7 separate regions of the Homo sapiens genome follow, and regions 1, 2, 3, 4, 6 and 7 are each linked to region 5. The links are contacts of gene promoters, found by promoter capture Hi-C in blood cells and fetal thymus (Javierre and others, 2016). All regions are on one chromosome and are shown on one strand. The core of a region is centred on a gene start or on the middle of the fragment in contact, and the rest is flanking DNA. Distances in the headings are between cores, read along the strand shown. Region 1 overlaps TTF2 (transcription termination factor 2). Region 2 overlaps IGSF3 (immunoglobulin superfamily member 3). Region 3 overlaps CD2 (CD2 molecule). Region 4 has its middle 22 kb from the start of LINC02868. Region 5 holds the start of PTGFRN (prostaglandin F2 receptor inhibitor). Region 6 has its middle 6.0 kb from the start of CD2. Region 7 has its middle 22 kb from the start of CD2.

Region 1 (3,831 bases), core at 601-3,100, 160 kb before region 5:
CCTTCTTTTGTTTCAGTTGTGTTGTAAGGTAGACACGCCGGGCTACTGGGTCTGAGGGTTCTACCTTCTTGGAAACACCTGAGGCAGGAGACACCTTTCTTTGCACACTTCGATCAGGGAATTGGAGGTTTTCCTTCGTCTCTAAGTCCAGAGTCGAGTCAAAGAGTAGGGGGCTCCCAGGCTTAGAGGAAACAAAAACAACATCATCTTCCTCCTCGTCGTCACTGCTTGTGGCAGCTTCACGGCCCTCACCCAGGGAAAGCCCTGGTGCTGCTGGTGCAGCCTGAGCCGCTGGTCCTCCAGGAGCAGGCACACTGTGGGTCTCCGGCCGCTCTTGGAAATGCCCCTGAGGCAGGCTTTTCTGGGTGGCCTGTATGCTAGGGCCATCCTTTGCCTTTGTTTCTTTAGCCTCCCAGTTCGTGTACTCCTTGTTGAGGGGTCCCCCTTTCTGGGGCTTGCTTATTGAGTTGTGACTGTGAACATTTTGAGGCAAAAGCTGGGTAACCTTTTCTCTCAGAGGTTCTGATTCTCTTTGGACATCTTGACTCTTACCACTTGATTTCTCCTGAGAAGATGCAGATGGTCTTGTAAGCTCATTACCTTGGCACTGTTGAGATTTAATTTCAGAAAAGTCTCTTTTGTGTGTGCCTCCAGTCTCTGCCTCACACTGAATCTCTGCTCCCTCTTCTTGCTTCTTCTCTTGAACTACAGATTGTTTTTTCTTTGGTACCAGGCCAGATGAGAGGTCTTTCTCCATCATTTCAGGCTTCTGTTCTTTCTTTTGATCGAAAAGCTGATCTCCCTTTTCTCTTTGCTTCTTATCAGCCTTCTTTTCCTCACCTTCACCTTTGATGAGCTGTTTCCAGAGAGCTGGTTCTTGATTCTTGTCAAGTACCTTGAATGGATTTCTCAGCCAGTTGGAAGAATGATGAAATGTCTCAGATGCATGCTGAGACTTATTGGATACAGAATGTTCTTTGGAATCAGGATCCTAAAGACAAAATAATTAATCTTCATATAAAATATTAATACAAACTTCGTATCTAGAATGCCTTTCCTTTTCATCTCAACTTTTATTTTATATACAGGGGGTACATATGCAGCTTTGTTATATGAGTATATTGCACTCAGGCAGTGAGCATAGTGCCCAATAGATAGTTTCTTAACCCATGCCCTCCTCCCCTCTCCAGTAGTTCACAGTATCTATTGTTCCCATGTTTATGGGTGCTCAATGTTTAGCTCCTGCTCGTGAGAACATATGATATTTGGTTTTCTGTTCCTGCATTAATTCACTTAGGATTATTCTGCAGAAGAAATGGAAACACAGTAAAAGCAGTCCAATATTTCCTGAACATTCTTGGTACCATTTCCACGTCTAGAAAAGATGACGTGCCAAACCCACAAAGGACTCATTTCTTCACGATACTTTCGAAGCTTGGTTCCTTCTCTGTCCATGATCACTCTTTTCCAGGCCTCAAGGAAAAGTAGTGACAAACCAAAGTGCTTTTACAATCACAATGGCCACAGTGTATACTTTTCAGGAAAAAAACTATTCTCTTAAGATGAACTTTTCCCCAAACCTAAACATTGTCTTAAAACACTTGCTTTGATTTTGGCTTTAGGAGGATTTTACTGTGGTAATCTAGAATCGTAAGTTCAAGCCACACCTCTGCCAAAACAAGTCTTATCACCTCCCTACTTCTAGTTCCTCACGTACTGAATATCTGTAGGGCTTCTCCTATTAGGAGATGCTCCTCCTAGTTCTAACATACTAGGAGCTTATGCTTATACTTAGCTTATACCAGTATCAAGTAGAAATTCCTCTATAAAAAGATACAAGAGTTAGTCAAGGAAATCTATTTTTTTCCTTGAGTAAAAGAATACTGACTACATTTAAGACCTCAAAAAATATTTACTAAGTGAAATAGGATGCAAATAATTAATCTTGATTACGACTAAATGATCCTTTGAATAAAAGTCCCAACAGGGCCTACCTTGCTTAAAGAAAACTATCTTTCGGAGACAGTCTGATGAAGACCAACTCATTTACGTGAACTTCAAGGTATTTTCAGGTGATGCTGCATATTAAAAGTCTTAACACAGCAGGTTTGAAAACAGATGAATAATTCCTACCTGCCATGGAATACTTCCACACCAGCGTTTCCCCTCTGCCTTACTTCTAATGCATCGGAAGAACAATCTAATGAAGTATAAAACACAAATAATCAAGGCTATGAAAATCCATTAGAACAAGAGATAAGCTTATTTTTAATCCAAGAAAACATCTTGCAACTATTTGAACCTGGCTTTGGGAGGTCACTTGAAACCAATTACTTTTATATACACATTTAAAAATTATTTACTGCACAGAACATTTATAAGGGCTAGGAAGTCCAAGAATAAATATGGCATGGTAGCCAGAGAATGCACACAGGTTTATTCTTTTTAGTCTGTAACGAATGACTGAAATAGAAACACTGATCAGCAATGGCTACTAAAATCAGAGAAATGAGAGACAGCCAGACACTGTGTGTCCCTGAAGGGGGGTCACAACACTAGCTACAAAGCAATGTTGCCCCAAAAAAAACCCCAAAACAACGAAGCCAAAACAAACAAAAAACTAACCTCTAGATCCAATTACCAATTTATAGGAAATAGAAACAACAGAAGAAGGCGTAAAACTATACTGTGGAGAATATAACCTTCAAAATCTTGGCAGTGGGAAACGCTATAGGACAAACAACCTGATCCCTTCCACAAATAAGTTACGAGGGAGAAAAAAAGATGAAGGGAAAACTTCAGAGACTTAAAAGACATATTAATCAATTCCAATTTGTGAACCTTATTTGGATCCTGATTTAAACAAATTAAAACTACTAAAAAAAAACTATGACATTTATGAGTCCACTGAAAATATGTAAACCAACTGGTATGTTAAAAGAGTGCAGCTGGATGCAGTGGCACACACCTATAGTCCCCTCTACTCAGGGGCCTGAGACAGGAGGATCATTTGAGGCCAGAGGCTGCAATGTGCTAAGATTGTGCCTGTGAATAGCCACTGCACTCAAACCTGGGCAACACAGCAAGACTCCCTTCTCTAAAACATACAAATATTTTTTAAAAAATAGTTCATATCTTGGCCGGGTGCGGTGGCTCACACCTGTAATCCCAGCACTTCGGGAGGCTGAGGTGGGCGGATCACGAGATCAAGAGATCGAGACCATCCTGGCCAACATGGTGAAATCCCGTCTCTACTAAAAATACAAAAATTAGCCCGGCGTGGTGGCACATGCCTGTAGTCCCAGCTACTCAGGAGGCTGAGGCAGGAGAATCGCTTGAACCCGGGAGGCGTAGGTTGCAGTGAGCCGAGATTGCACCACTGCACTCCAGCCTGGCGACACAGTGAGACTCTGTCTCAAAAAAAAAAAAAAAAAAAAAGTCCGTATCTTTTAAAGCTACATACTAAAATATTGACAGATGAAATAATGTTATCTGGGATTTTTTTCAAAATAGGGCAGGAGTTACGGGGTGAAGTGGATAGGATACATATAGAACAAGAGTAGCCATGAGCTGGCAATTGTTGAAGCTCATGCTACAGTACCCTATCTTACTTCTGTATATATTTACACTCTTCCACCAAAAAAAGAAGGCTGAATACAGATTTAACATCCCAGTGCAAGAAAGTTCCTGCACACACAAACACAGCCCATACTCCAGCTATCCAGAGGTGTCTAAGCTGTTCCACTGCCGAACTAAGCCATGCACCCTCCAGTCTACTAGACTTTGCATGGGTACTACTCTCCATCCAAAGGATATCCTCATCATCCCAAT
Region 2 (3,785 bases), core at 788-3,287, 250 kb after region 5:
GGGTGAGTTCACTAGCGCCAGTGCCCTACCACCCAACGCATGCAGACACCCTGCTGGTAGTTTAGTTAGTCTTCTGTTCAGCTGTGGGCTGGGATACAGGCAGTGTCTCCATGTCACCTGTATGCTCAGGCAGAGTCAAGAAGGCAGGGAGCCCTTCATTTGCCAGTCTCTTCATATTGGATCTGTATTTGTTGTACTGTATGTGTCATTCGCTTAGTGTCTGGGTTTAAATCAGCAATTAGTGATTCATGTGGATTCAACAGGACACAAACAAGGAAAGCCCTTGGGGAGGTTTGGATGTGGGGTGGGGTGTGTGGCTAAGGCGGGAAAGAGGGCTGAGTGGCAGGGTGGGGCCCAGGGCAGGAGAAGTAACCATCAATGGGAAAACAAGGCAATGTGACATTTGTGCCTTTTGTTTCTTCTGGCTGCTCAAGTAATGTAAGGCTGCATGCTGGTCCCCCTGCTGTTCGCTCTCTGGGCCACTCTGTGGAGTGGAGCTCGGGCCCTGGCACCTGGCAGGTGCTGTCATTTTCCCTCCACCCTCATCTTCATGTGTAAACAGGTGCCATGGAGGAAAATGAGCATCAAGGTGGCTTTAAAGGGGCACAGTGGCAGACATCCAGATGCAGGCTGAAGTGGGAAGGTTTGGAACTGTAGGCATGCATGTGGATCTCTGCCTGATTTGGAGCCCCACTGGTGGAACCTCATCTTTCTCTTCACCTGATGGCTCTCAGTATGGCAGGAAGGAGGCCTGGCTACTACTTTACTAATCTGGGAGAGGTAGAAGGCGTTTGGGGAGGGAGCAAAACCCATGTTGGGGTCTTATTTCCTGCTTGTCTTCTGATGTGGTCTGGTTCATGTGTCAGCATTCTTGCTGCATAATGTGAATTAATGTGTAGTATGAATTTAAAACAGCGAAGAATCCCAAGGTTTTAAGCCCATATAGGTCACATGCCTGGAATAAAATTTTGTTTAAAAAAGTTGGATAAGGCTAAGTGCTCTGAAAGTGAGACCGATGCAGGTACCAGCCTCTAGAAATGGCAATTTTAGTTAGAAAACCCTGGACAGTATGTGAGGGGTATACAGGGTAAATCTCGGAGACGCTTTCATCTCCCTCAACATGACAGACCTGTGCTTTTCTGCACCTGTCCTTTGCCAGTGTCTGGGATTGGAATCAGATTCCTCTTTTCTGTCTGTTGGGATACTGATTCCTGCTTATGTCTTTGTCCTACCCTTTGTCTTTGTACCTACCCCCTTGACCTCTGTGTGTTGTTTCCTTCTGTCCTAACCCTAGGTGCCTCACCCAATAAGGGTTGTGGTGGCAGTGCATGGCTCTGCCACCACAACCCTTGGTTCCAATTACAAAGCCATTTAAGCCTGGCTCTGGTTGAACCATGAGGGTAGTAAAGTCTCTATTTGAGGATAGATGTGGCCAGAGGGGCAGAAGATTAGAGAGAGAATAGAGGCTGGTACAGTGGTAGGAAGGGAAGGGTGACTGGAAAAGTGCCTCTGTCTGGGAGCAGCCTGCATGAGTGACAGTGACATGGGAAGATGACAGCAATGTGGGAAAGAGAGCATAGGATTTGTGTCTGTAAGAACAGGAAGGAAATTCTCAGGAAAGATGAATATAAGCTTTAGACACATACAGCACATTTTGATTTTGTGTAGCCAGGAAGAGTTATATACCTCCCAGACCAGTGCTGATGTTGCAAACAAGATTAAATAGCTTTAAAAGTGTTAGCAATGAAAAATGTAGGAGATTGGGACATCTGAGAACCTGTAGATGGCAAATGATCATTTGTGTTCTGCTCCAGAGGGAGAGAAGTTCATTTGTAGAGTTTGGGAAGTCTCTTCTTTGAATACGGTAAGGCTGAGGAAGCCATCTCTTACTTCCCAGTTAGTTAGAAAAGGCTTCTGAAAGGGATTGAAAGAAACTTTGAAGTACTATGGGTGTGACCTCAGAGGCAGGGCTGGAGTGATCAAAGGCAGAGGAGAAAGAGGAGGCAGAGAAAAGTGAGATGGTTTGGAGCAATCAGGAGAAGGGTTCTGAAAGAAGGGGATGAGGATTGTGATTTATGGATGAACAAACACCACTGTCCTAATAGTTGTCCCAGAGGTAGTGCACTTCCCTTTCCTGGGGACCATTTGACAAGGGTGCAGGAGAAGGAAATTCTTGTCAGGAGGACTTGGCCTACTAGGATGCCTTTCAGCTGTGAGAATCATTGAGCTACCTCCAGGTACCCAGGGCTGTGTTAAGATGTTGCCATCTTCTACGGTTTTCATGGCAGCAAGACTGCTGGTACTTCCATAATGGCAGTAATACCAGCTCTCCTAACTCTAGCCCTTACTGTGACCCAACTATATCAATCAGTCTTCAAAACAACCCTGTAAGATAGATACCTTGCATTATCACATTTTTATAGATGGGGAGATTGAAGCTTAGGGAGGTTAAGTAACTTGCCTAAGCTGGGCATGGTGGCTCATGCTTGTAACCGCAGCACTTTGGGAGGCTGAGGCGGGTGGATCACTTGAGGTCAGGAGTTTGAGACCAGCCTGGCCAACATGGTGAAACACCGTCTGTACTAAAAATACAAAAATTAGCCGAGCATGGTGGCACATTCCTGTAATCCCAGCTACTCGGGAGGCTGAGGCAGGAGAATCGCTTGAACCCAGGAGGCAGAGGTTGCAGTGAGCCGAGATCGCGCCGTTGCACTCCAGCCTGGGCAATGAGCAAAACTCTGTCTCAAAAAAAAAAAAAGAGTCACTTGCCTAAGATAGATTGCTGACAGTGTTAGGGCTCCAAGCTCCTGCTGTCTTGCTCCATGTGCATGCTCTCTATTCCCAAGATGACTTCATGGTCCAAGATGACTCTTCTAGCCGCAGCCATCAGGAAGGAAGAAAAGGCTAGTGAAGGGTAGGACCTCTTAATGTAAGGATACTTCCTGGAAGTTATATACATCACTTCCACTAACATTCTCATTGGCTAGAACCTAGTCATGTGACCATATTTAGCTGCAAAGAAGGCTGGAAAATATGCTTATCCTGAGGGTCCATGTGTCCTGAGAAAAACTTGGGATTCTATGACTGTAGGGAAAGGAGAGAACAGATTTTGGGGGACAGCTGCCCATCTCTGCCATAGTCACAAAGCTAAAAAGTGGCAGAGTAGGGTTTTGAAGCCAGGACCATTTGGTTCCAAATCCTGTGTTCTTACATCTAATAAGCTATTCCGTTTGACTCTGAAGCCGAGCCTCTGGCTTCTAAGAAGGCTTGTTAGGAAGGCATGAGTTAGATGAACCAACGTTTGTTTCATAGGAAGCAACCTAAATCAGCATATAATTAAACACTACATTTTGTGGTTTTATCAGTGAGTATTAAAGTGTTTATAGAGTGCTTATGTGCCAGTCACTGTGCTAAACACTTTACATAGCATGACCTTCTGTATAAAATTCTTGAAGACCATCTGTCATGTTCATTACTGTAGTCCCAGAACTCAGCCTTGTGCCATGCAAAGTAAGCAGGTGTTCAGTTATTTTATTTTTTTTGAGATGGAGTCTCACACTGTTGCTCAGGCTGGAGTGCAGTGGCACGATCTTGGCTCACCGTAACCTCCGCCTGCTGGGTTCACGCGATTCTCCTGCCTCAGCCTCCCGAGTAGCTGGGATTACAGGCACACACCACCACACCCGGCTAATTTTTTTGTATTTTTAGTAGAGATGGGCCTTCACTATGTTGGCCACACTGGTCTCAAACTCCTGACCTCGTGATCCGCCTGCCTTGGCCTCCCA
Region 3 (3,847 bases), core at 193-2,692, 140 kb after region 5:
CTCCTCACCCTTCAGGATTTTCTTCTTTGTGTGACTTCAGTCCATGAAAGCAGGCCTACAGCTACTCGTAATGTAGTTTTTCCTGTACTCTTAAAATCACAGGGAATCTGTGAAGGTGCCCAGCTGCTAGAGGCCTGGAGCACCCTGCTGGCCCCTCTGGACTCCTTTAGGCTGTAAGTTAGGTATTTCAGTCCCTGCACCCAAGGCCGTCTTTGCAGTGGCTCCAGAGGGAGGTAGGAAGAGAAGTTTTTCCCTGGGGTGAAATAATTACCTCTTTTTTTTTTTTTTTTTGAGTTGAAGTTTCACTCTTGTTGCCCAGGCTAGAGTGCAATGGTGCGATCTTGGCTCACTGCAGCCTCTGCCTCCCAGGTTCAAACAATTCTCCTGCCTCGGCCTCCTGAGTAGCTGGGATTACAGGCGTTCACCACCACGCCCGGCTAATATTGTATTTTTAGTAGAGATGGCGTTTCTCCATGTTGGTCAGGCTGGTCTCGAACTCCCGACCAGGTGATCTGCCTGCCTTGGCCTCCCAAAGTGCTGGGATTACAGGTATGAGCCACCGCACCCAGCTGAAATAATTACCTCTTACATCTTTATGGAGATGTGTGGCTGGGGAAGCACAAGCCCTCTCTAAGCATCACCCTGTAACTTCCGGATGTTGATTCAAACCAGATGGCCTCCTCTGACTACATGAAATGTGAGCATCAGATGGCTTTGAGTGTAGAGTCAAAGTTAGACAATGTGATTTTGATACCTAAATGGCTCGTGTGCTCTAAGCACAAAGAGGAAAGGGCCTCCAGAAAGGACAAAACACATCCTCTATGCCATCTTCCGTGCCCTGCAGTCATTGCTTAGGTTATGTCCAGTAGACTGTGGAGAGGGCTCTAACCCCTGGCCCTAGTTCTGAATTATGGGGCAGTGGGTGGTCCTTCTTCATCTCCTATGTGGCAAGCTTGCACTGGCCATTGGTTTACTACTCTGTTCACCCACTATTTTTGTTTTTTATTTGTTTTGTTTTTTTGAGACAGGGCCTTGCTCTGTTGCCCAGACTGGAGTGCAGTGTGTGATCGTATCTCACTGCATTCTTGATCTCCCGGGCTGAAATGATTCACCCACCTCAGCCTCCTGACTAGCTGGGACTACAGGCATACACCAATGCACCCACCTAATTTTTAAGTTTTTTTTTTAAAGTAGAGACCAGGTCTCACTATATTGCCCAGGCTGGTCCCAAACTCCTGAGCTCAAATGATCCTCCTGCCTCGGCCTCCCAAAGTGCTGAGATTACAGATATGAGCCACCACACTTGGCCCATACACCATTTGGTTCATTTGTCCTTCCAACATTTATTCCTCATCTTCCAAGTGTTAAGTGTCATTGTGACTTAGACACAAATTGTCCTCAGGAAGCCTAAAATCAAGTAAGAGGCAAACAAGAACTGAAAATCGCAATGTCAATTTCTGTGAAGAGCCCAGGGCCACCAGAAAGTGTAGACAGAGGCACATGAGCTCTGGTAGGAGGAATGGGGTGTAGCCACATGGCTGAGACTGCAGGCAGGGTTGGACAGACAAGGTTGGCTACGGCTCTGTGCACCCTGCCTGGTTCAAGCAGGACAGTGGGTCCTCAGCCTACCCACTCCAGCAGCTGCAGCTGGCGCCTAAATGTGTGCTCCCAGGAATTCCTCCAGGCTCATTGTCCTTCTCCCTTGTTTGCATCTCCTGGTTACTCAACCCAGGGCATGACTGGAATGAGGCAAGCGAGGCTGACAGGCATGCAGTTTAAAGACACACCAACTTTCAGGTTGTGCAAGGGCAGGCCAGCCTCCTTAAATTCTATGCCTTAAATTCTGGGCTCCTTGCCTCGGCCTAGGCCTGAGTCAACCTACTGGCCATAGGATTTAAGGCAAATAATTGAACCTCACTGAACTTAAGCTTCCTCATCTGTGTTGTTATCTATCTCCTAAGATCACTCTGAAAGCTGGATGCACTAATAGACATAAAACACAGAGACTAACGACTTTTTTATCAGCATGAGCTAACCATCATTCTTCTCAGCCTGGTGATGGCAGAGATTGCCTTGTCTTGGGGTGACAAGTGAGGTCCACCTTGGAAGAAGATATGGTCTTTGACCATTAGTCAATGGAGAAGGAGCATGGAGAGGAGCATGGAGAACAGCCAGAGCTGGGCACAGAGGAGGATAAGCCAGGCATGCCTAAGGGCCCTGCCAGCGATTCTGCTGTGCTGTGGTGGAAAGTGTGGGACAGTCGTGGTGGGAAGAATGGGACTAAGTTCAGGATGATGTTTCGGGGCCTGGGCTGGGGGTAGTGACGTGATGGGACGTGGGGCTGAGGGACCGCAGCCTGATGGGGAGGCAGAAGGAGAACTGAGGAAGAAATCTGAGGTAAAGAAGCCAAATCCAGAGGGCACGGGGCCCAAGGCCACCGGTGCCTGGGGAAGTTTGGACCACCTCCCTGGGCAGCACTGGAAGCAGCTGGTGTGGCTGTGCCTGCCGGTTCTAGGGAGAGACCAAGTCCTGCTGTGAACGTGAATTGCAGAGAACCCCAGGGCCTGTTCCCTTGGCTGCAAGTCCCGCCAATGGCTGACACCCTCATCTGTGCCCCCCACAGTGACCCCGGGTTGGCCATTCTCTGAAGTGTTCTGCCTTGGGTGGCCTGGATGCTCCCTAAGCCGGCTCCCCACTTGCAAGCATAACCTTTTCATTGCTGATAGATTGTCAGACAGGCCTGATCTGAGGAAAAACTCTCAACCCTAACACATCCCTCGAACAGAGAATTAGCAAAGGGGGCACAGGCACCCTGCTTTAGAACAGCTGTTTTCCTGTGACTACCTGATGACCTGAATGATTTTCCCTGTGTTTCTAGGAGCTTGGTCCTGAACTCACCTTGGGCCACCCATAGATAGGACATTTATTCCTAGAAACGGTGTTTTGGAGCTAACCTTTCTGCCTATGTAGAGAAGTGTGGCTCATTCAAAAGATGTTCACATTAGCCTGTCACCAAGTAGGCCTCAGTGGTGGATTCCAATGAGGCCAACTGGATTCAGTGTCTCAAAGCTCCCACATTGTCACCACTAAGAATTTGTTTTTCAAAAATCAAGCTAACCACAAAATGAAACAAGCTATAACCGCTGACTACAACCCTGACATTCCGAAACTACCTATTTCCATCATTTTCTCTGCAGATTCAAGGTGTCATCCCCATGAGCTGTTTCATGGGGATTTTGCTGGGGCCTGCGGTGGGACAAAAGAGGGGGAGCTTACCATTTCTCCGACTCCTCTGTTTTTTCCTTTTGGTGATATAGAAAACGAGCAGTGCCACAAAGACCATCAAGAGGCTGCCTCCTCCACATATGCCAATGATGAGATAGATGTCCAGACCTTTCTCTGCAAAAGGAAGAGAAGTGGGATGGCTGGGAGGGGTCCAGGCAGAGAGCCCATTACTCTGGCCAAGGATGCTGCCTCCTGCATCAAGCAGATAGAAGAGCTTGTTGGGACCTTTCACCCCATAACTCCCAGGCTCACAGAGGGTGGTGAGTGGTGTCAACCCTGGAAGGACCCAAGGTCCTTGGGAAGCTCCCTCTGCAGGCTCTTTGGGAAACTGCTCTCAGGGGCTAGAAATGCCTGATTGTTCATGCACCAAGGCCGGCCTGCCCACTGCCCCCGTCATGGAAAGCATCACGAAATTTTAGATCCGAGGATCTTAGAGATACTCTAAATGCAACCTCTAGCTTCAAACATGAGGCCCTGAGAGGGAGAATGAGTTGCCCGAAGCCACACAATATCTGTTCCTGAGCATTTCCCTTAAGCAGCCCCTTGTCTCGGTGTTTCTGCA
Region 4 (3,514 bases), core at 235-2,734, 190 kb after region 5:
AAATCATGTCAAATATTTGAACAAATGTCTGAAACAGGTGCCCATAACTGGCTTTTACAGGTTCCCTGTGGCTCTCGTTATACATGAGTGGCATGGAGATTTCAGTTAGAAGCTTAGAAGGGCTGGGGTTCAATGTGATGCTTTGATATATGTATATATCGTGGAATGACTATATTAAGCTAATTAACGTATCTGTTGCCTGACATACTTATCATCTTGCACAATGAGAACATTTAAAGTCTACTCTTTCAGCAATTTTGAAGTTTATAATATATTATTACTAACTATGGTCACCATGCTGTGCCATGCTGAGACCATCTCAAAAACATCTTCCTCTTGTATAATTGAAACTTTGTACCCTTTGATCAACACTACTTGTTCCCCACCCCACTGCACTCCTCAGCCTTTTGTAGCCACCATTCTACTCTACTTCTAGAAATTCAACTTTTTTAGATTCCACATATAAGTGAGATCATGCTGTATGTGCTTTTCTGTGCCTGTTTTATTTCATTTAGCATTATATTATCCAGGTTCACCCATGTTGTCACAAATGACAGAATTTCCTTCTTTTCAAAGGCTGAATAGTATTCTGTTGCATATATTGTGTATGCATACCACATATTCTTTATCCATTCACTGGTTGATAGACACTTAGATTGATTCCATGTCTTGGTTATTGTGAATGATACTGCAATGAGAAGGAGAGTGCAGATATCTCTTCAACAGACTGATTTTAATTTCTTTGGATATATACCCGGAAGTTGGATGACTAGGTCATCTGTTCATTCTAATTTCCGTTTTTTGAGAAAGCTCCATACTGTTTTCCATAATGGCTGTACTATTTTACATTTCCACGGTCAGTGTACAAGGGTTCCTTTTTTTCCACATCCTCACCAACATTTCTCTTTTGTCTTTCTTATAATGGCCTGTTAGAAACAGGTGTGAAGTGATAGCACATTGTGGTTTTAATTTGCATTTCCCTGCTGTTGGCCATTTGTACATCTTCTGTTGAGAAATGTCTATTCAGGTCCTTTTTCCACTTAAAATATTGGATTGTTTTCTTGTTATTGAGTTGTTTGAGTTCCTTATATGTTTTGGATATTAACTCCTTAACAGATGAATTGTTTGCAAATATTTTCTCCCTGTTTATGTGTTGCCTCTTTATTCTGTTAGTTGGTTCCTTTGCTGTGTAGAAACTATTTAGCTTGTATTTCTGGTGCTACAGAAATACAGAGGATCATAAGAAATGACTATGAACAATTATTTGCCAAAAAATTGGATTTTTATGAAATCCAATCTAGATGAAATGGATAAATTTCTAGACACATACAACCTGCCAAAACTGAATCATGAAGAAATAGAAAATCTGAATAGATCAATAATTAGTAAGGAGATTGAATCAGTAATAAAAAGCTCCCCATCAAAAAACAGCCTAGGACTGGATGGCTTCATAGCTGAATTCTACCTAATATTTAAAGAAGAAAAATATCAATTCTTCTCAAACTCTTCCAAAAAATTGAAGCAGAGGGAATACTTTCAAATTCATTTCTCAAGCCTGCCTTTACCCTGGTATTAAATCCAGACAAGGACACTACAAGAAAATAAAATTACAGGCCAATATCCCTGATGAACATAGACGAAAAAATTGTCAACAAAATAGTAGCAAATTGGATTCAACAGCACATAAAAGGATCATGCACCATGATCAAGTGAGATTTACCCTTGGGGTGCAAAGGTGGTTCAGCATACACAAATCAATAAATGTGATACACCATATTAACAGAATGAAGGGCAAAAACCATCATCTCAATATAGAAAAAAAATTTGATAAAATTCAACATCCTTTCATGATTAAAACTCTCAACAGAAGAAATGTACCTCAACACAATAAAGGCCACATATGACAAGGCTACAGCTAACATCATACTCAGTAGTGAAAAGCTGAGAGTTTTTCTTCTAAGCTCAGGAATAAGGCAAGGACGTCACTCCTGATACTTCTGTTCAACATAGTGCTAGAAGTTCTAGCCAGAGCAATTAGGCAAGCAAAAGATACAAAAGGCATCTAAATAGGAAAGGACGATGTGAAATTGCCTCTATTGGCTGGCAATCTGGTCTTAGAGAAAATCCTAAAGACTGCCAAAAATTGTTAGAACTGATAAACAAATTTTTCAAAGTTTCAAGATACAAAATCAACATAGAAAAATCAGTAGTGTTTCTATACACTAACAACAAATTTTCTAAAAAAGCAATCAAGAGGGCCGGGAGCAGTGGCTAATGCCTGTAATCCCAGCACTTTGAGAGGTCAAGGTGGGCAGATCACAAGGTCAAGAGTTCGAGACCAGCCTGGGCAACATGGTGAAACCCCATCTCTACTAAAAATACAAAAATTAGCCTGGCATAGTGGTGGTGCATGGCTGTAATCCCAGCTACTCGGGAGGCTGAGGCAGGAGAATTGCTTGAACCCGGGAGGCGGGGGTTGCAGTGAGCGGAGATCGTGCCACTGCACTCCAGCCTGGGCGACAGAGCAAGACTCTGCCTCGGTGGGGGGGCAGTGAGGGAGGGAAGCAATTAAGAAAATCCCGGCTCTCTGCTCCTCCCATTCCACAGACAGCTGCATCTTCTCGTGTAGCGCCAGCTGCATCCCTGAGACATCATGGTGAAGGTGAAGCCTGGAGTCAATGGATTAGGCTGTATTGGGTGCGTGGTCACCAGGGCTGCTTTTAACTCTGGTAAAGTGGATATTGTCGCCATCAATGATGCCTTCAATGACCTCAACTACATGGTCTACATGTTCCAGTATGATTTCACCCATGGCGAATTCCATGGCACTGTCAAAGCTGAGAACAGGAAGCTTGTCATCAATAGAGATCCCATCACCATCTTCCAGGAGCTAGATTCCACCAGAATCAAATGGGGTGATGCTGGCACTGGGTATGTTGTGAAGTCCACTGACATCTTCATCATGGAGAAGGCTGGGGCTCATTTGCAGGGGGAGCCAAAGGGGTCATCATCTCTGCCCCCTCTGCTGATGCCCCCATGTTCATGATGGGCTTGAACCATGAGAAGTAGGACAACAGCCCCAAGATAGTCAGCAATGCTTCCTGTGCCATCAACTGCTTAGCACCCCAGGCCAAGATCATCCATGACAACTTTGGTACTGTGGAGGGACTCGTGACCACAGTCCACACCATCACTGCCACCCAGAAAACTGTGGATGGCCCCTCCAGGAAACTGTGTCATAACAGCCGCAGGGCTCTCCAGAACATCATCCTTGCCTCTACCGGCACTGCCAAGCCTGTGGGCAAGGTCATCCCTGAGCTGAATGGGAAGCTCACTGGCATGGCCTTCTGAGTCCCCACTGACAATGTGTTGGCCAGGAACCTGACCTGCTGTCTGGAAAAACCTGCCACATATGATGACATCAAGAAGGTGGTGAAGCAGCATCAGAGGGCCCCCTCAAGGGCATCCTGGCCTACACTGAGCACCAGGCTGTCTCCTCCGACTTCAACAGTGA
Region 5 (3,971 bases), core at 749-3,248:
CCAGACACATAAAGTCAATTAATGTGTGTGGACTATAACAGCAGTGCGCCACTAACATACAACTTACAAGGGTCCCAGAGTGAAAAGTAAAGATTAAAAGCACTACCACCGGGTGTGGTGGAGCATGCCTGTAATTCCAGCACTTCAGGAGACTGAGGTGGGAGAATGACTTGAGCCCAGGAGTTTGAGGCTTCAGTGAGCTGTGGTTGTGCCATTGCACTCCAGACTGGGTGAAAGACTGAGGCTTTGTTTCAAAAATAAAAATAAAGCACTAGGATCAGGGACTATAGAAAAGATGCCATAAAACTAAGTGGAAGATCTGGAAGCTTTCTGCACATGGGCTGAAGCTGAAGCAATGTGGCTGGACGAGCTCTCTGAGGGAGTCAGTTCAGAAAATCCCTTCAAGGTGAAGGAAGAAAACACAGCAGCCAGCAAGGCTGGTTCATCAGCAGCAGGAGTCATGGGGGTTACAGCAGTGTGGGCCCCGGTGTCCCCAGCAGGGGAGTAGCTATAGAAGGCCTCCTCTGGAACCCTCTGACCATAAGTGCAGAGTAATCATTTGCCCTGTGTGCAGCTGGGACCTGAATGGCACGGACACCGCACATCATGCGCTCTGTGAAAGACTCAGAGCCGCCTTCTCTAGGGGCTTGGAAGAGAACCCCAGGCCAGGTCACAGGAATCATCTTGTCCTGGTTGACACTGACAACAAGGATCCAAGAATATCAAAACATTTAAGAGTCGGCCCTGGGGTACCATGGTGGGCACTTAATAAACATATTTCCGTGGCTGGCTAGGATCACCATGTGGATCTACGTGAAGATGGTGTCTGTGTATGGAGTGAATGGAAAATGGAGAGGGAAAAAACCCACAAAAGATTCCTTGGGTGGGGGGAGGGCGCTGGGCCAAAACCTCACGGGGCACCCAGGGTTTCCGGAGGGTGGAAGACGAGGGGATAGTAAGGGAGGGAAAGTAACAGGTAGAAAAAGTTGGAGAAGCCAGGCTTTTAGGTCTTTGTGTATAAATACGCAGCTAGGCAGCTTCAAGAAAAGCTAAAAGAAAAGACTGAGGCAGAAGATCTAGCCACGACGAAAATGACGGCAGGACTCGCCCGCCGATTTCCATTGTAACGCTCCGGGCCACCCTGTGACCTTCGTGGAAGGAAGTTGGAGGATTCTCTCGCTTCCCTGGAAAGGCAACTCCGCGCGGGTTGGGTGAAGAGCGACCCGGCCGGCGGCGGCTATGGCGGGGCATATCAAAGGCTCACATTTCCGCTCTCGAGCCGAGGACCCGGGCCGGGACCGCAGCACCTTCCGGGCCGGGAGTTCAAGGTGAGCCGGGCTCCCGGCGGCCAACAGGTAGGGAGACCTGGGGGAAAGACGGCCCCGGGCCACTCCCCCCGGCACATGTTGGGGGCGAGGCTCGGCCTGGCGGAGCGGCCACTTGCACCCCGCGCGCGGGGCCCGAGCGGATTCGCGCCAGGCTCCGGGCGGCCCCGCGGCCGCTCCCCGCCGGGCCGAACAACCCGCGCACCCCGGCCGGGTTTCCCGGGAGCAGCCCGGGCACCCTCGGCGCCCCAGGCCGCGCGCTGCAGCCGCGCCCCGCCGAGCCCTCCAGGGCCTCGCCAGTCCCCGTGTGCCCCGCTGAGCCCCGCGCACACTCACCCAACGACAGGAGCGCCAGCAGCAGCGGCCTCGAGGCCAGGCGCCCCATGCTCGCCCGGCGGGAGCGACTCTCCCCCTCCTCCTCCTTCCCCGCCGCCTCTCCTCCTCCTCCTCTTCCAGCTCCGGCTGCTCCAGAGTCGGCGCTCCTCCGCCTGGGCCGCGCGCCTGCTCCGCTCTCCTCGCGAGCCGATAAATCCCAGCGCTGGGGCGTACGTGCGCCCCTGGCTCCGCTCGCTCCCTCCCGCCTCCTTCCCTCCCTCCTCCAGCCGGCCGGGCCCGGGAGCCGGCCCCGCCGATCCGAGTGTGCAGCCCCGACCGCTTCCCGAAAGCAGAAGGGAAGAACCGCAGCGCCCGCCCGCGCCTCCCATCCGGCGCTTTGCCAGCAACAAACACAAACTTTCCCAAGCCCCTCCCCGCTCCAGGTAACGGAGGAAGAGCCGGGGCCACCCGCTTAAAGGCGAGGAGGCGTCGGAGCCCACCCTGCCATCCCCTCTGGGCCCCCACCCCACGAGAAACTTTCCTCCGACCTTTAAAAGTTGGCCTGGGAAAGACTCGTCTGGAAATCCCATCGCTTTAGCCCTATCCCGGGACACCCCGCGTTCCATCACGCTGGAGTCACCCACGCGTGTCTAGTCTATCCTCAGCCAACTCCCCGCTCGTTCGGCCTCTCGTCCTGAGCTAAACACCCCACCAACCAGCCGCTTGGCCTATGCCAAAAATTATGCAGATAGGAGCGAAGGAGCTGAAAGGACTTTTAAAGGCCACGGATTCCAACCTCTACCATACAGAGGCCTTAAGTGTTTCGGTGAGGTGCCCAAGGATTCACAGGGAAGGGGCAAAATCAGAACCCCGCTCTCCTGACTCTGCCCACTCCCCGGTGGCTAGGGTGGGCCTGTCTCCTTCCTTACCCAGCTCCCTCCCTCTCCTCGGCGCCTGTGGCACTGATTAGAACAGCACCCCACAAAGACACCCATTTAAAAAACAAACAAAACCCAAGTGTATTAATAGCTATAGTACTTCATATAGAATGTACTCTTAAGACTTAATATTTATTGCTCTAAGTGGACACCACTGATTGCCAATAAAGACTCATTTTTCCCCCTACAATAGAGTTTTGTGCTTTTGATTTGAATACAAAAGGCCCGACTTGGTTGGGAGAAATGGAGCATTCCTTGCTTGAAACTTAGCAAGCATGATTCAAACACGCAAGGAGCAGCACTGGTGCCCACTGCCCGTCACTGGGCTTTCATTCACATGCAAAACGGATCGCAGATGCTTATGCGGAAACTGCCCACACTGGGGAAGAACACTGCTTTTACTCTCATGCATCCGTCTTTCAACCAACAAATGTTTCTTATTTCCCCACTATCAAATGTGTGATTAGCCAGGTATCTTTGGAAAGAGACTTAAAAATTCATTCCTGGTGGTGCAACGTTATTGTACTTAATGCCACTGAATGGTACACTTAGAAATGTTTAAAATTGCCAGGCCTGGTAACTGGTACTTGTAATGCTAGCTACTCAGAAGGCTGAGGTTGGGGGGGCAGGGGGAGGCGGGGGGCAGGGATGGTGTTGCTTGAGGCCAGGAGTTTTTATTTGTTTTGTCTTCTTTCTTTCTTTCATTTTTGAGACAGGGTCTCAAAATGAGGATCTGTCACCCAGGCCGGAGTGCAGTGGTGCGATCAGGGATCACTGCTGCCTTGACCTCCCAGGCTCAAGCAATCCTCCCACCTCCACCTCTCAAGTAGCTGGAACCACAGATGTGTGCCACCACACTCTCGCTAATTGTTTTTATTTTTTGTAGACACTGGAGTCTCCCTATGTTGGCCAGGCGGGTCTCGAGCTCCTGGGCTCAAGCGATTCTCCCGCCTCGGCCTCCCCAAAGACTGGGATTACAGGTCTGAGCCACTGGGCTGGCACTTTTTCTTCTTTTTCTTTTTTCTTTCTTTTTTTTTTTTATTTGAGGCTAGAAGTTTGAGACCACTCGGGCAACATTGTGAGACACCGTCTCTAAAAAAAAATTTTTAAGGTTAAAATGGTAAATTTTGTGCTATGTACATTTTACACAATAATTTTTTTAAAATTTATTTCTGCCGCCAAGCCTTTCCTGGTTCTGTTCATACACACTGTAATTCCTTTCTCTTCCCCATCCCAATTCTTCCCTAGAATCTCGCAGGGAAGTTTCCCAATTTCATTCAATCAACCTTGAATTCAAGCCTAATGTTAGGCCTTGGAAGGTAGTGGAGCTTCAGAGAAATGTGAGGCCTGGCACCTTCAGAAGCTCAGATTTCAGCTCATCCTCCATCTTTCC
Region 6 (3,791 bases), core at 117-2,616, 160 kb after region 5:
TATGCTGCAGTATTTTAAAGACAAAATTGGAAACAATTTAAATGTCTAAGAGAAGGAAATTGGTTAAGTAAATCATGATATAGACAAGCTGTGGAATATGACAAAAACAGGTCCCAATTGTAGGAGAGGTGAAAAGTAATCTTTTTCCTCTTCTTGTCTTAGGTTCTCTGGCTGGAGCCCTGTAAACCAGACTGGGAAAAGACAGGTTAAGAAGGGAAAGGCACATTGAAGTTGATTAAGATGTGTATCCCTCATAAACATGGGAGCACCCAGTGGTGAGTAACCCAAAGGGATGTTAGAACTTGGACTTATAGAGTATATTAGACTAAACAAAGAAAAAGCGATTTGGGGCTTCTAGGTTGGGGAGGCAAGTTACCCAATGACCAGGAAAAGTGTGCCAAACAACAAGATGTGTTTAGTAAGGTTTGTTATGCAGATTGAAGCCAATGCCTTCTCCATTGATAAGAGTTGTTAAGAGTCCTCCTCTTCCTGATACAGGAGAGGGAGATACCTTTTACAAACGGCTATTTTCTTCAGAAATTGTAAATTTTCTTTACAAAAGAAAAATATTGTGCCATGTTTTTAAAGCTTTTACTGCCTCTGCTGGTTCATGATGGCCTTTTGCTCAAAAAAAAACCATATGTTAAAAAGGCATGTTTTAGGGTGGCACTGAAGTAGGAGGTGGAACTTGACTCTGGAGGTGGGGCTTGGACACTGGACCAAATTGAGGACTAGCTAAAACAGAGATAGGTGGAAGCAGCTTTCCATAAAACATGCTCACCAGTGTGCCATGTCAGTTTACTGTTGCCATGGCAATAACCAACTTCTACCACCTTTTTCCATGGCAATGACCTGGCGACCCAGAAGTTACCACCCTTTTCCTAGAAATTTCTGCATAATCTGCCCTTTAATTTGCATATAATTAAAATGGGTATAAATAGGACTGCAGAACTGCCTTTAAGCTGATACTCTGGGCACACTGCCTGTGGTGTATACTTGCTCTGCAAGGAGCAGTACCTCTGCTGCTGCTTCAATAAAAGTTGCTGTCAAACACCACCAGCTCGCCCTTGATTCTTTCCTGAGTGAAGCCAAGAATACTCCAGGCTAAGCCCCAATGGGGCTTACCTGTCCTACATCAGCATCTTCTGGTACCCTTCACAGTCAACAATATAGTCCCATTTTATTTCTCAAAAAGCGTGTGTTGGGTGCATCTCTTGCAGAATGTCCCCAGGGTGTTGGTCCCTGTGTGGTGGGATAATAGCTACTATTCTGCCCTCCTTGCTTGCTGTTGCTATTCTAATATATCTAAATTGAACACGTATTGTCCTTCAATTGAATTATGTTTAATTCTAAGTGGACCTGTCACTTCGGTAAATGTTCTGAGTGCTGAGGCAGGTGCAGTCCCTGCCTCTGAGTGTTTGCATTTCAGGGGACCATCTACTCGGTTGCTCATTCCAGCTCCTCCCTTGCCACTCTTGCTGCACTGTACAGGTTAGCTCTTGCTCTGTCTTCATTGATTCTTTTTCTTACCTAAACTCACACTCCTGGGGAAGTAGGCTACAGGGAAGAGAATAAGAAGCAGAGAAGGAAGAAAATATTCTTGGAGGTCTTACTTTAGGTTGACCTCTTATTCCCTGATTAGTAAAATATTGATGGTCTTGACTTCTACCTCCCTTTCCCTTTGTCAAAGGAGAGCCTTAACAAGGCTCAGGTCAAGTCAGGACTGTTAGAAATAAGTGCTCAGTGCCACAAGGAAAAACCAGCACTTAGACAGAAAATTTCTCAGCAAGGCACATTTACTTCTGCAGATGGGTGCTGCCTGTGTCCCTCTGATTGTACGAGCACACTAAGCGGGGTAGCACAGGGGTTTTTATCCCTAATGCAGTTCCTGTTTCTGTGTCCTTTCCCCACTGGCTGGAGTCAGACCGCACAGTCTAAGCTGACTCAATTGGCTAGTGTTTGAAATTGAATAAGGCCAATTAGGCAGGAAGGGAGAGGCTGTCCATTACCAACTAGGTGAAAAGAGTTGTTTAAAGAGTAAGAGGTTTGCCAGTTACAGATTAAGCAGAGAAACAAGTGCTCGTTACAGATTAAGCAGAGTACGAAGTGCTCATTACAGATTAAGAAAGACCAAGGAAGCTTAGAAGAGGAACTTATTATTTTTGGCAAATTTCCCCCTCTTGACTTTATAGTTCTCCCTCTTCACATTTCCTTAACATATCCTGACTTTGTTGCTCCTCTTAGTCATTTAGGAGTAGGAACTTATCTGAGTAGGGTGGGGGAGAATCGAGGGGTTTTCATGAGGGCTTTTTCTATAAGCCTTTGCACTAATCAACAAATACAAGGTATGATGCAGCAACCTACAAGAGTGAGTACACCTATAACAATTGCAAGAGGGGTAAAGATTGAGGTTATGAGTCTCTTCCATTTTCCAAACCATTTTCCCATGAGACCAGAGAAGGGGTCATCTATTCCAGAATTTAGCTAATTCATTTGTTAGGGTGGTAAGGCCCTGTAAGGCTTTTGTAATTGTTCCATCAGGGGCTGTGTTGTTAGGGATAAAAGTATAGCATTGGACCCCAATCATGACACAGACCCCACCTTTCTCAGTCAATATCATGTCCAGGGCTATTCTATTTTCCCGGACCATTTGGGTGGTAGGGCCTAATTGTTCAGCTATTCCTTTAATGGTATCCCTAGCATAATTGACAAACTGCTGTTGATTATAGTAAATGTAATTTATCCAGTCTACATTTTTGTTTACATTTACCCATGAGAACAATATAGATTCAAATCCTGCAGCTATTTGATTTCAAGTTTTAAATTCATTTGGCACTCTTGTGGAACTCTGATGGCATCTATATAAATGTGAGAGTCAAAGGACCCGTGGGGGGATGGTACTTCTTTTTTGCAATTGTCTTTTTTGCTTTGTTGATGAAATGTCAGGATAAAAGGGATGGCCAATTGAATTAGGGTGCAAGTGCCGATCCAGTCACTTGGCAGAGTACCTAGTAGTGGTCCACTGCAGTACTACCATACATCTGCTCTGGGATGAACAAGGGCAGAGTGATTGGTTAGCTCCTGAAAAGGCTTAGGCTTACTGCATCCCGCTAAATTCGGCATGCTTTATTGCCCCAGGCTGTGGGGTTTTGGAAGAGAGCTACCATACAGCTCATACCCTGTTGGTTGGAGGATCATCCAAGTGGAAAGGGGATAATTTGGGTCCCTGGCCTTCCCGTTGCACAAGTGTAACAATCGCTTTTGTTTAGTGTGTGAATGGAATATCTAATCAATTCTAGCCAGGCATTTGCATCTTGGTACTCCATTTCAATAGCTAGGATTTGTTTTAAATCTTTAACTTCTACAATGGCTACTTTGGTGTTGCTATTGGGTAGGGAGAGACTGGTAGTTTGATTAGAAGGTTTAGGAGAGGGAGGAGGGGATGAGGGGGTGACGAAACGCATTTCAAAAAATCCTATAGAGTCTGCCCCTGCGACCTCTGCTCCTATACCATAGAAATGACTTAATGAAGGGGAGGAATTTTGGGAAGTTGTGATAGTAATGGAAATTTGTACTGGATTACATTGGTTTTGCTGGCAGTTGGTGGGGGCTTCATTTGGTGAAAGGAATGTATGGTTTTTGGACACACAGAGAGTTGTTGGGGAGGTCCAACCATGATTTTTGGTAGTCCATAGAATTTTGGACAAGCTACGGCAGAGAAACTCTGTTTTCGGAGTACAAGATTCCCAGTTAACAGAGTTTTCTTTATAATATCCCAAGTCTAAGGGAAC
Region 7 (3,876 bases), core at 207-2,706, 180 kb after region 5:
GAATAAGCCTCTGCATATCCACTGGGGGTTGGTAAGTAACATCAGAGCGTGCAGCGAGGGGAAAGGAATTAAAAAGGGAGCTAATGTCATCCGTGGGGAATAGCTGAGGAAGGAAAAAACCACTCTGGAAGAGAGGGGTTGCAGAAGGATTTTTTGCAATGTATTATGACCACTCAAGGCAGGCACACACATGTGTCTGTTGTCCCAGCCCCAACATGTAAAATGAAACTCCAAAGAATGTGATACCATGGGGTAGCTGGGAGGGTGGGGGCAAGGAGGGAGATTTTTATCTCACAAAGCAGATTTTATTTTCTGAGAGCCATATGCTTGATTTTCTTTTTCCCAAAAAGCCCACAGTCTCATGTGGAAAAGATTTAGAATTTTATTGGCTTTCAGGGAAGAGGGAATTAGAAATGTTAGATAAGTAGATATCACATGGGAACAGGATTTCATAGCACTCCCCCAGGCCTGTGGGTGAATGCCACACTATGAAGCTGCAGAACTATGGACAGAAATGCAAAACTGAGATGTGGCAAGAGCTGTGGGCTGGGGACAAGATGTGGGCTCCAGTCCCTGCTTTGCTGCTTAACTCCACCAAACCACTTCACTTTTCCTGAAATATGGGGGGAAGGCAATATTTGCCCTGTTGATATTGTAAAACCAATGTAAGTATGTAAGAGGGCCCTGAATGTGGTGTCTTGGCATTCAAAAGGGACAGTCACATGTCAGGTATTGTTATCTATGAGGATGTAACCTACAACCCAACCTAAGCTAAGGTACTCATTGGTCCACTTTTTAAGCAAACATATTAATTAAATGTTGTGTGAGAATACTTTGTAAGTGGCAGAAACTCAACTGAAAATACTTCATGCAAAAATAGGAAAATGATTAGCTCATGTGTTAATTCATCCAATCAGTAAGTTGACAGCACTCTGCTGAGTACCTCACTTGCCAGCTGCTGTTCTAGGAGCTGGATATATAGCAGCAAACTAAGCAGCCCAAGGTTCTCATAGGGTGCATGTTCTAAAGGGTAGATACAGATAACAACAACCACATATACACTGAGAAATAAAAATGAAATCCCGAGTCCCCCAACCAACTGAATGGTCCCCCGCCTGGCCAAAGAGTCCTCAAAGAAACCTTAAAAACTGACTTCCCAGCCATGACAGAGTGGGAAGTCGGACACATCTCCTTACACTCCCTTCTGCTAACTACTATTAGGGTTTTTTCCCTAAGGGTTAAACAGAAACCAGCCCTGTTTCAGTACAACAACTGATCAGAGTCCCTTCCTCATTAGACACCACTGACCATGGGGTGGTTTGGGCCAGTCTACAGAGGCTGCACACAGAGGGCCTTTGTGTCCCCTGCTTCACCTTTTGACATATAGAGCCTAACTGTAATACATTTAAATGTTGAGTTTCCACCCTAGAGCGAACACGGGATGCGTGTTTTACACATTAGCCTGCTATGCATGCCCACAACTCCCCTTTGCTACTATTTATAGCTCTTCCTATAACCTGTTGATTATGTATATTTGACCACCCTCTTCAGCATAAATCCCTGTCTTAGTCTTCCCACCCTTAAGTCCTTGCTTCTGGCTTCTGGCCAGAGGCTACACTTCCAGCCTGTCAGAATGGTCACCTGCAGAGAAGTACAGCTCTCCTTTCCAAATTTATGAACCTTGTGATTCTTCAGTTGACAGTATATAATTTTTTCAGGTGGTTGTAAGTGCTACAAATAAGATAAAGCAAGGCAAGGGGATACAGAGTTATAAGAAAGTGCTATTTTAGGAAGGAGGGGTCAAGGATGGCCTAACTGAAAAGGTAGCAATAGAGCAGCACCCTGAAAGAAAGAGAGAACAAACCGTGCAGCTATCTGGTGGAAGAGCATTCCAGGGAGATAGATCAGCAAGTGCAAAGGCCCTGAAGTGGAAGCTAAAATGCTAGTGAGGATACAGTGGGCTGAGCGAGGGCTAGAGTGGTAAGAGAGGAGGACAGCGGGAGCAGCCAGGCCATGCAGGGCCTGAGAGTCATGGTGAGGATCTTGGAGTTGGATGGGGAGCTGTTAGAGGGTTCTGAGCAGAGCAGTAGTGTGATCCGACTTACGGTTTTAAAAGGATCTCCTGGGCCACTTGTGGAAGCAGTGAGACCAGTGTGAGGGCTACTGCAGTAGTCTGAGCAAGAGGACTAGGAAGGTAGCAGCAGACATAGAAGGAATTGGATTCTGAATATTCTCAAAGGCAGTGCTGGTGGGATCTGCTTATGGATTGGATGTAGAATGTGGGTGCATAACAAAGGTGTAGGAGTGGTTCAGGCACAGCTGGATCCATGCACTTGAATAATAAAATTGGGACTCTTCATCTTTCCATATCTCTTGTCTCTGCTTTCTTCTGCATTGGCTTCATTTTCAGGTAGCCTCTTCCCATACAGTGGGGAAGATGGCTTCCAGCACCTGGCTCAACTCTGGGAGTGTTCTCAGAAGAGCAAGGAAGTTTTTTGTTCCCAAAGACTTCAATAAATGTCCTCTCTAGCCTCATTGGCTTGAACTGGGTCATGTGCTCAGCCTGAACCAATGAGAATAACAGGGAGGTGGGGGAGTGGGGTGGAATTACACTGACTGGGTTAGGCATAAGCCACAGCCTTCATTCCTAGAGTTCTGGGTAGTTGGCATCCCTTAAGTAAATGAGGAGATGTGGTGATGGAAAGAAAGCCAAAGGTGGTTATTGAGAGAATGGGGCTGGGTGTAAGTTGGCCACCACAATGTCCAGTGCATCCAGAGAAAGTTTAATGAAGGGCATCTAGCGTGAATGAAAAGGAGGGTACTCATAAAAATGCAATTTGGTGACCTATTACCTGTGAAGGCTGAGGGAGAAAGGAGGCTGTAGATGGTTCCAGAATAATCTAGGCAATGATGTTAATAGAAATGGAGACTATAGGATCCAAAGTATGCGTGGGTTGCAAAGGAGTGAGATGACTTCAATTTTATGACATAAGAGAGACAGACACAGAAATGACGAACCACAAGTCAGGGCAGAGCAAAATAGGCATTAAATGAGAAGAATAAGCAAAACGCTCAGGGGAAACTATAGCTGTGGTGCCTGCAGGTCATAGATAGAGGGACGGACATTGCCTCTGGCTGTCAACAAATCAAAAGTGAAGTTTGAAGGTCTTGGACTAGGAGCACTTAATTATCCATGGCTCTCAACGCCTTGAGGTCCCTAGCATCTTTGCTGTTGTTTGCTTCACCTCCAGTCTGTGTACCAGAGCTGCTAACAGGGAGCCCATCTCACTGCATGGTTTCCCTTCTTCCTTCTTGCCCCAGGCACAGTCTTCTGTTCAAGCAGTGAAACAGCAAGGGAAAGAGTTACCTGCCGCTGAGGGGCAAAGAGCACTTTGTCTGGCTGCAGATGGAAGACTGGACAACCTGGGTGATTTGGTTTCAGGGGAGGAGCCTGTGGAAAGGAGGGGAAGCCCAGCCGAGGACTTTTTTTTTTTTTTTTTGAGACAGGGTCTCACTCTGTTGCCCAGGCTGGAGTGCAGTGGAGTGATCACAGTGCACTGCAGCCTCCACCTCCTGGGTTCAAGTGATTCTCCTGTCTCAGACTCCCGAGTTGCTGGGATTACAGGTGTGCGCCACCACGGCTGGCTAATTTTTGTATTTTTAGTAGAGACAGGGTTTCACCATGTTGGCCAGGGCTGGTCTCAAACTCTTGGCCTCAAGTGATCCGCCCACCTCAGCCTCCCAAAGTGCCGGGATTACAGGCATGAGCCACCGTGCCCGGCCCCAGCCCAGGACTCCTAAAGGAGAGGCAAAATCTAATCAGCACAACTTCTCCCAAAGACTGGTAGGAAATCTATGGAGAAAGAAATACTCTCC

Evidence for each region. The method cuts DNA at HindIII sites, captures the fragments that hold promoters and counts their contacts. A CHiCAGO score of 5 or more calls a contact.
Region 1: a fragment that was not itself captured here is called in contact with the fragment with the promoter of PTGFRN in region 5 in 2 of 17 cell types (naive CD4 T cells and non-activated CD4 T cells); the score reaches 5.2 in naive CD4 T cells.
Region 2: a contact is called between a fragment that was not itself captured here and the fragment with the promoter of PTGFRN in region 5, in 2 of 17 cell types (fetal thymus and activated CD4 T cells). The highest score is 5.7, in fetal thymus.
Region 3: a fragment that was not itself captured here is called in contact with the fragment with the promoter of PTGFRN in region 5 in 1 of 17 cell types (naive CD4 T cells); the score reaches 5.2 in naive CD4 T cells.
Region 4: a fragment that was not itself captured here is called in contact with the fragment with the promoter of PTGFRN in region 5 in 5 of 17 cell types (naive CD8 T cells, non-activated CD4 T cells, total CD8 T cells and 2 more); the score reaches 6.1 in naive CD8 T cells.
Region 6: a fragment that was not itself captured here is called in contact with the fragment with the promoter of PTGFRN in region 5 in 2 of 17 cell types (naive CD4 T cells and M1 macrophages); the score reaches 6.6 in naive CD4 T cells.
Region 7: a fragment that was not itself captured here is called in contact with the fragment with the promoter of PTGFRN in region 5 in 8 of 17 cell types (non-activated CD4 T cells, naive CD4 T cells, naive CD8 T cells and 5 more); the score reaches 8.3 in non-activated CD4 T cells.

The regions. Positions count from the first base shown.
Region 1 is chr1:117,072,030-117,075,860 of GRCh38, reverse strand. TTF2 (transcription termination factor 2) reads right to left here. Exons shown (of 23, transcript NM_003594.4): 4 at 2,134-2,200; 5 at 2-991. Among named protein-coding and RNA genes, the nearest start is that of TTF2, 14 kb to the right of the region's middle. The HindIII fragment of the contact is 827 bases long and covers 1,437-2,263 here.
Region 2 is chr1:116,661,050-116,664,834 of GRCh38, reverse strand. All of the region lies in intron 2 of IGSF3 (immunoglobulin superfamily member 3), which reads left to right. Among named protein-coding and RNA genes, the nearest start is that of IGSF3, 4.8 kb to the left of the region's middle. The HindIII fragment of the contact is 806 bases long and covers 1,635-2,440 here.
Region 3 is chr1:116,764,036-116,767,882 of GRCh38, reverse strand. CD2 (CD2 molecule) reads right to left here. Exons shown (of 5, transcript NM_001767.5): 4 at 3,277-3,399. Among named protein-coding and RNA genes, the nearest start is that of CD2, 12 kb to the right of the region's middle. The HindIII fragment of the contact is 976 bases long and covers 955-1,930 here.
Region 4 is chr1:116,713,975-116,717,488 of GRCh38, reverse strand. It overlaps the pseudogene GAPDHP64. Among named protein-coding and RNA genes, the nearest start is that of LINC02868, 22 kb to the right of the region's middle. The HindIII fragment of the contact is 2,739 bases long and covers 115-2,853 here.
Region 5 is chr1:116,907,943-116,911,913 of GRCh38, reverse strand. It overlaps PTGFRN (prostaglandin F2 receptor inhibitor), which reads right to left and starts at 1,998. Exons shown (of 9, transcript NM_020440.4): 1 at 1,662-1,998. The coding sequence starts at 1,710. The HindIII fragment of the contact is 4,060 bases long and covers 329-3,971 here.
Region 6 is chr1:116,746,528-116,750,318 of GRCh38, reverse strand. No RefSeq gene overlaps it. Among named protein-coding and RNA genes, the nearest start is that of CD2, 6.0 kb to the left of the region's middle. The HindIII fragment of the contact is 1,551 bases long and covers 591-2,141 here.
Region 7 is chr1:116,730,324-116,734,199 of GRCh38, reverse strand. No RefSeq gene overlaps it. Among named protein-coding and RNA genes, the nearest start is that of CD2, 22 kb to the left of the region's middle. The HindIII fragment of the contact is 4,954 bases long and covers 1-3,876 here.